Regions from separate parts of the Homo sapiens genome. Here region 2 is linked to region 1. Evidence: promoter capture Hi-C in 16 types of primary human blood cells and fetal thymus (Javierre and others, 2016). All regions are on one chromosome and are shown on one strand. The core of a region is centred on a gene start or on the middle of the fragment in contact, and the rest is flanking DNA. Distances in the headings are between cores, read along the strand shown.

Region 1 (3,109 bases), core at 407-2,906:
CCTTGTCCTCAGCACAAGGACAGAGCCTCATCTGCCAGCCAGTCTTGGCCATGTGGGGAAGTAGGTCAGGGGCTTCAGAATCCGGATAGCTGCTGCACATCAGGGCAAAGCCAGCCCTCTGGAGCCTTGTGGATGGAGACCAGGGTGTGGGCACACCACAGCAGGCCACAATGGCACAAACTGCAGCAGACTTATGTCCACACCCCCCAGCTTGCTGGAGGCCATGGGAAGGTCACTTCTCCCTGGACATGTTTCCTCGCCCCTTCCAGCTCTCACCATCCAAGAAGGAGGCATCTTAGGGGAGGAGAGGATAGAACTGACTCCACTCCAGCAGGCCTCCTCTTCCTTTCTGTCCCAACAGCCCCACCCCCCACTCCCAGTGATGTCATTTCGGCCACCTCATCACCAGCTTCTAACCCCCTTCCAGTCGCCCTTTCTGTCCTCAGATGGCAACTGGGGGCAGCGGAGATGTATCCCTCTTTATTCGGTCTCTCGCCTGGCACACTGGCCGGGATTCCCGAACCTGACCCCCTCCAAACCATGAGCCATTTGCAAGGGGACCGGGCAGGGGAGGGCTAAGCGACTCCTGACTCTCGAAGGCAGATGGGAGACTTGACTTTCTGCTTCTTCACCAGCAAAGACGCGGTACCACTTCTCCCTGAGTAGGAAGCGAGTTAGGGAAACTTTCTAGGAGTCTTAGAGCTCATAATTCCTGTCAGGGACGGGTGCTGCTGGATTTGGCGTGAGATAACTTCCCTCTACACACAAGCCACCCTCCCAGCAAAACATGACGAAGGAGCCGCCTCCCGGCCTCAGAAGACTCCTAGCTAGCGCTCAGGCCCCGTAACAATACCAGGGGCGGCCGAGCAGTTGCTGCCTCCAGGACGGGGTGGGCGAGCTGGATGACGGATGCCCGGTCGTCTGGGAAAATAGGAAGACCGCCCCCCGCCCCCCACTTTTGCAGGTCTCCGCCCGTCCGGTCCGCGTCTTCTCCGGCAGCGCCCCCTCTCTCCACGTCCCGGTTCTCCAGACGCGTCCCTCCTCCGAGTCGGGCGCGCCCGGTCCAGCCCAGCCCCTCCCGGGGTGATAGCGCCCAACAATGGAGAAGCGGACAGGGGTCACCGGGCGCTCCCCGCCTTCCTGTCCCGGTCGCCCCCGCGCTCACCCTGCTCCAGGTCCTGCTGGTCGTACCAGGACTCCTCTTCCTCCGCGGAGAAGTCCTCCATCCCGGCGGCTCTCCGCATGGCCCCGCGGGCGGCGGGCGGGTGCTGCGGCGGCGCAGCTCAGGGCCGGTGCGCGCGGCCCGGGACAATGCGGCTGAGGCGGGCCGGGCCTCCAGCGTCGGGAACTCGGGCTACAGAGCCCGCGCCGCGCCCCCTCGCCATCAACCGCTCGCCGGGAGCCCACGCGGGGCCTGGCGCTTTGCCAGGGTCCGGCCCGGCCGGGGTCCCGCAGAGCCGGGGGCACCGGGCTGCGGCGACACAAAGGGTGGAGTGGCAGGGACGGCGGGTGGGACAGTGGCAAGGAGGATCCGGGCCCGCAGGCGGGTCTGGGGCGCTAGGAGCGCGCGGGTGCCGTGGCGGGCGCCCCCTGCCCGGCTCGGGTCCGCGCTGCTCCTGGCCCGCCCGGCGACAACCGGAGCCGCCGCTGCATCTTGGCGGAGCCCGCCTGCAGCTTGCGGAGCTCGGCTCCGCGGGGTGGGGCCTGCCGCCGCCGACCAATCAGGAGATGTATGCAAAGCTGGAGGCGGGGCCGAGGGCGGGACCCTCCTGGTGTCTTGGTCTGGGAATTGCTTGATCAACCCTTTCGTCCTACTTCCCCCTACGACCTATTCAGTTTATGTCTCATGTCTAAAATTATGCTATTTTAGAAGTTGTCGTCTCTCCTAGATCTCCTGGAAGCAAGAATATTGTTTCTCTTTCACAGCTGGCTACTCACTTCCTAGAACAGGCTGCTCACCAGTCGGGCGCGATGCCTGACTCCTGTAATTCCAGCACCTTGGGAGGCCAAGGCGGGCAGATCGCCTGAGGTCAGGGGTTTCGAGACCAGCCTGGCCAACATGGCGAAACCCCGTCTCCATTAAAAATACAAAAATTAGCTGGGCATGGTGGCGCATGCCTACTCGGGAGGCTGAGGCAGGAGAATCGCTTGAACCCTGGAGGCAGAGGTTGCAGTGAGCCAAGATAGCGCCACTGCACTCCAGCCTGGGCGACAGAGGGAGACTCTGCCTCAAAAAACAAACAAACAAAAAACAAACAACATGCTGGTCATTGATACCTTCCATCGACATTCTTTGAATGAATGAATACTAATTTACAGTTGCCTTTGGGAACTGCGTGTTTAAGTGCTTGTGGCTAGAAACCACAGGCTGAAAGTGGCAAAGTTTGAGGGTGTGTTACCTGCATTCAAGGTTCTGTTTTCCTTTCCTTGGGACCCATATCCTATATCCAATTATACCCATTAAAACTATACACACTTGCATCTGTCCAAGCATTCTTTCCTTAGAAGAGTGTTCGGACTCAAGCATTCACGTAACTCATTTTTATTGGGACCCTAATGTGCTGGTGCCGTTGAGAATCTCTGAATAATGTTGTGATATACCCAACGAATGACTTGTATCCAGAATACAGAAAGAACATCTGCATAGTCATAAGAAAAAGGCACGCAACCCAGTAGAAAAGTGGGTAAAAGATTTGACCAGGTAATTCACAAAAAAGGATACACAAATAACTGAATAAATATGCAACAAGGTACTGAACTTCTTTAGCCATCAGAAAAATGCAAATGAAAACCACAATGAGGTATCACTACCCAATCACCAGAGTGGCTTTAGGGAAAAAAAAAAAAAAAAAAAAGGCCAGGCGTGGTGGTTCATGCCTATAATCCCAGAACTCTGGGGAGGCCGAGGTTGGGAGGATCACTTGAGCCTGGAGTTCAAGAGCAGCCTGGGCAACATAGCAAGATCCTATTTCTATAAAAAAATTTAAAAATAAAAATTAGGTGGGCATAATGACACACGGCTGTAGTCCCAGATACTTTGGGAGGCTGAGGTGGGAGAATTGCTTGAGTCTAGGAGGTTGAGGCTGTAGGGAGCTGTGGTCATGCCACT
Region 2 (3,147 bases), core at 89-2,588, 150 kb before region 1:
GAGGATTTTATGAAAATAAACCACTATGGCAGGACTGCAAGATAATTTTTTGTTCTTCAGAATGTTCATTAACTGCTGGATTCAGAGAGAGAATGAAGACTTCAGTAGATCCTGTATGTATAGCAGGAGGCCATGTCCCACCAGCAGAAATGAAACTGCTTGAACTAACAAGTTGTCTCAGTCCGAATTCTCTTTATCTTGAATATTTTAAATGTGGAGTTTTGTTTTTCTTTTATATTTACAATTATATTTAGGTTATTTCAGGGACACTTATTGTAGGACTTGTGTGTCTGATCCAGTGCATTTGATCTTGCTTCTTTTACAATGGATGTAACCAAGGAAACTAATGGGTGACCCTCTCTGAGTTTTAGTTCATAATTGTGACAGTTGTCATTCTGAAAAGCTTCATACTCTATTTTTGCTTGTAGTTAAATAGTATAGAACATTTTATGTTACTCCCATAGAATGTTCCAGAAATTCATGAAATGTTAAAAGCAGCAGTAGTATGTTAACATTAACAAAGCATGAAAAATAAATAAATAAAATAAATGTCTGTCCAATGAGAAATACTGCAGCCACAGAAGAGGGAGGTTTGTTTGCTTCTAGCCTATCATGAGATAAGTACATGAATTGAGAGTAAGTGTTAAAGACCTCTTCTTGGCCGGGCATGGTGGCTCACGCCTGTAATCTGAGTACTTTGGGCAGCTGAGGTGGGTGGATCACTTGCGGTCAGGAGGTTGAGACAAGCCTGGCCAACATGGTGAAACCTGGTCTCTACAAAAATACAAAAAATTAGCTGGGCATGGTGGCGGGCGCCTATAACCCCAGCTATTGGGAGGCTGAGGCAGGAGAATCGCTTGAGCCTGGGAGGCGGAGGTTGTGGTGGGCCAGGATCACGCTACTTTACTCCAGTCTGGGCGATGGAATGAGACACAGTCTCAAAAAAAAAAAAAAAATCCATTAATATAGGAGCATTATTAACTGCCCTTACTGCCTTTTCAGGCAAAAGGGATTCTATGAAATATTTTTACGAATATCTTAGAATATGCAACTGAATTTGATTGGTTAACACTGAAATAAACTTGCTATTAAAAAGAAAACTAAGGCCCAGTATGGAGGCTCACGCCTGTAATCCCAGCACCTTGGGAGGCCAAGGCAGGTTGGATCACCTGAGGTCAGGAGTTTAAGACCAGCCAGGCCAACATGGTGAAACCCTGTCTCTACTAAAAATACAAAAAATTAGTCGGGCGTTGTAGCGGGCACCTATAATCCCAGCTACTTACTTGGGATGCTGAGGCAGGAGAATTGCTTGAACCCGGGAGGCACAGGTTGCAGTGAGCCGAAATTGCACTGTTGCACTCTAGCCTGGACAACATGTGTGAAACTCCATCTCAACTAAAGAAAAAAAAGGAAAACTAGGCCGGGTGCAGTGGCTTAATGCCTGTAATCCCAGCACTTTGGGAGGCCAAGGTAGGTGGCTCACTTGAGGCCAGGAGTTTGAGACCAGCCTGGCCAACATGGCGAAACCCCGTCTCTACTAAAAATACAAAAATTAATCAGGCATGGTGGTGCATGCCTGTAATTCCAGCTACTCGGGAGGCTGAGGCAGGAGAATTGCTTGAACCCAGGAGGCAGAGGTTAAAGACCCTGTCTCAAAAAAAAAAAAAAAAAAAAAAAAAAAGGAAAACTAGGCTGTGTGAAGGGTGAAGGTGGCTCATGCCTGTGATCCCAGCACTTAGGGAGGGTGAGATGGGAGGATCACTTGAGTCCAGGAATTTGAGACCAGCCTGGGTAACATAAGGAGACCCCATCTTTTAAAAATAAAAAAAAAAAAAAAACAAAAATAGCCAGTTGTGGTGGTGCGCGCCTGTAGTCCCAGCTATTTGGGAGACTGATATAGGAGGATTGCTTGAGCCCAGGAGTTTGAGGCTACAGTGGGCTGTGATTGAGGTACTGCACTCCAGCCTGGGCCACAGAGTGAGACCCTGTCTCAATATCCTCCACCTGCCACCCCACCCCTCCACAAAAAACAAACAAACAAAAAAACTAAAAATATGTATACTATTAAGCTCTTAGTAAAAGTTTCCTTTCATAGAAAATATAGAATTTTTGCATTCACTTTGCACTTTGAATCAGTTTTTTCCCGGTTTAGAAACAACCCTAATGAGAGACAATTCATTTGGAAAATTGGATGGGTTCCAGTTTTTTTGCTGTCAGAGAATTGGATAAATAGCCTATATCATGTGATAATTACTATAAAGCAATGAAGCTTGACAGTGAGGTGAGGGATTTGAAAACATACAGTTAATAAGCAAGGCGAATTACTACCCTGTTTGTAAATATGGATACATTTCCAAGAGTGAAAAAAAGAAGTTGATACCATTTATGTTAAATATAACCAAAACATGTTACATGTTATCTGGCTACATGTAAATATACATAAAACAAGTGGACTAGAAGGCTGCACAGGACTTGCAGTGGGACCTCTGGGAATAGGGGGAGCAGGATCCACCCGGAGCTGGAAGGGGCCGTAGAGCTAGAGTTCCCTGTTCTTATTTAAAAATCTTCATGTCCTTGGGCCAGGCGCGGTGGCTCACGCCTGTAATCCCAGCACTTTGGGAGGCCGAGGCAGGTGGATCACAAGGTCATGAATTCAAGACCAGCTTGGCCAGGATGGTGAAACCCCATCTGTACTAAAAATACAAGAATTAGCCGGGCATGGCGGCAGGCGCCTGTAATCCCAGCTACTAGAGAGGCTGAGGCAGGAGAATTGCTTGAACCTGGGAAGTGGAGGTTGCAGTGAGCCAAGACTGCACCATTGCACTCCAGCCTGGGCAACAGCGAGACTCCGTCAAAAAACAAAACAAAACAAAAAAAAACTTCATGTCCTTATATATTTGTGTAATTTAGAAAAGAACATAAACAACAAATATGGGAAAAGATGAACAATGGTTAATTCTGTGGAGTGGGAGCATGGTGGGTGATTATTTTGTTTATGCTTTTAGGTATGTTTCCAACCATCAAACCAAAAAAAAAAGAAAAAGAGAAACAGATCCTTGATCTTAACAGGAAATGGCTGTCATTATGAGTATTATTTCTATTCCCTGTTTTCATAGAAAATGTGGACACAGACTTGCCAGGCAGCCT

The links. The method cuts DNA at HindIII sites, captures the fragments that hold promoters and counts their contacts. A CHiCAGO score of 5 or more calls a contact.
Region 2: a fragment that was not itself captured here is called in contact with the fragment with the promoter of CDR2L in region 1 in 3 of 17 cell types (naive CD8 T cells, naive CD4 T cells and total CD8 T cells); the score reaches 6.4 in naive CD8 T cells.

The regions. Positions count from the first base shown.
Region 1 is chr17:74,986,179-74,989,287 of GRCh38, reverse strand. It overlaps CDR2L (cerebellar degeneration related protein 2 like), which reads right to left and starts at 1,656. Exons shown (of 5, transcript NM_014603.3): 1 at 1,166-1,656. The coding sequence starts at 1,244. RefSeq lists silencers at 1,561-1,650, 1,671-1,750 and an enhancer at 1,317-1,818. The HindIII fragment of the contact is 10,272 bases long and covers 1-3,109 here.
Region 2 is chr17:75,136,220-75,139,366 of GRCh38, reverse strand. It overlaps JPT1 (Jupiter microtubule associated homolog 1), which reads left to right. Exons shown (of 5, transcript NM_016185.4): 5 at 3,117-3,147. LOC107985034 (a long non-coding RNA gene) reads right to left here and starts at 3,117. Exons shown (of 2, transcript XR_007065907.1): 1 at 1-3,117. The HindIII fragment of the contact is 1,866 bases long and covers 406-2,271 here.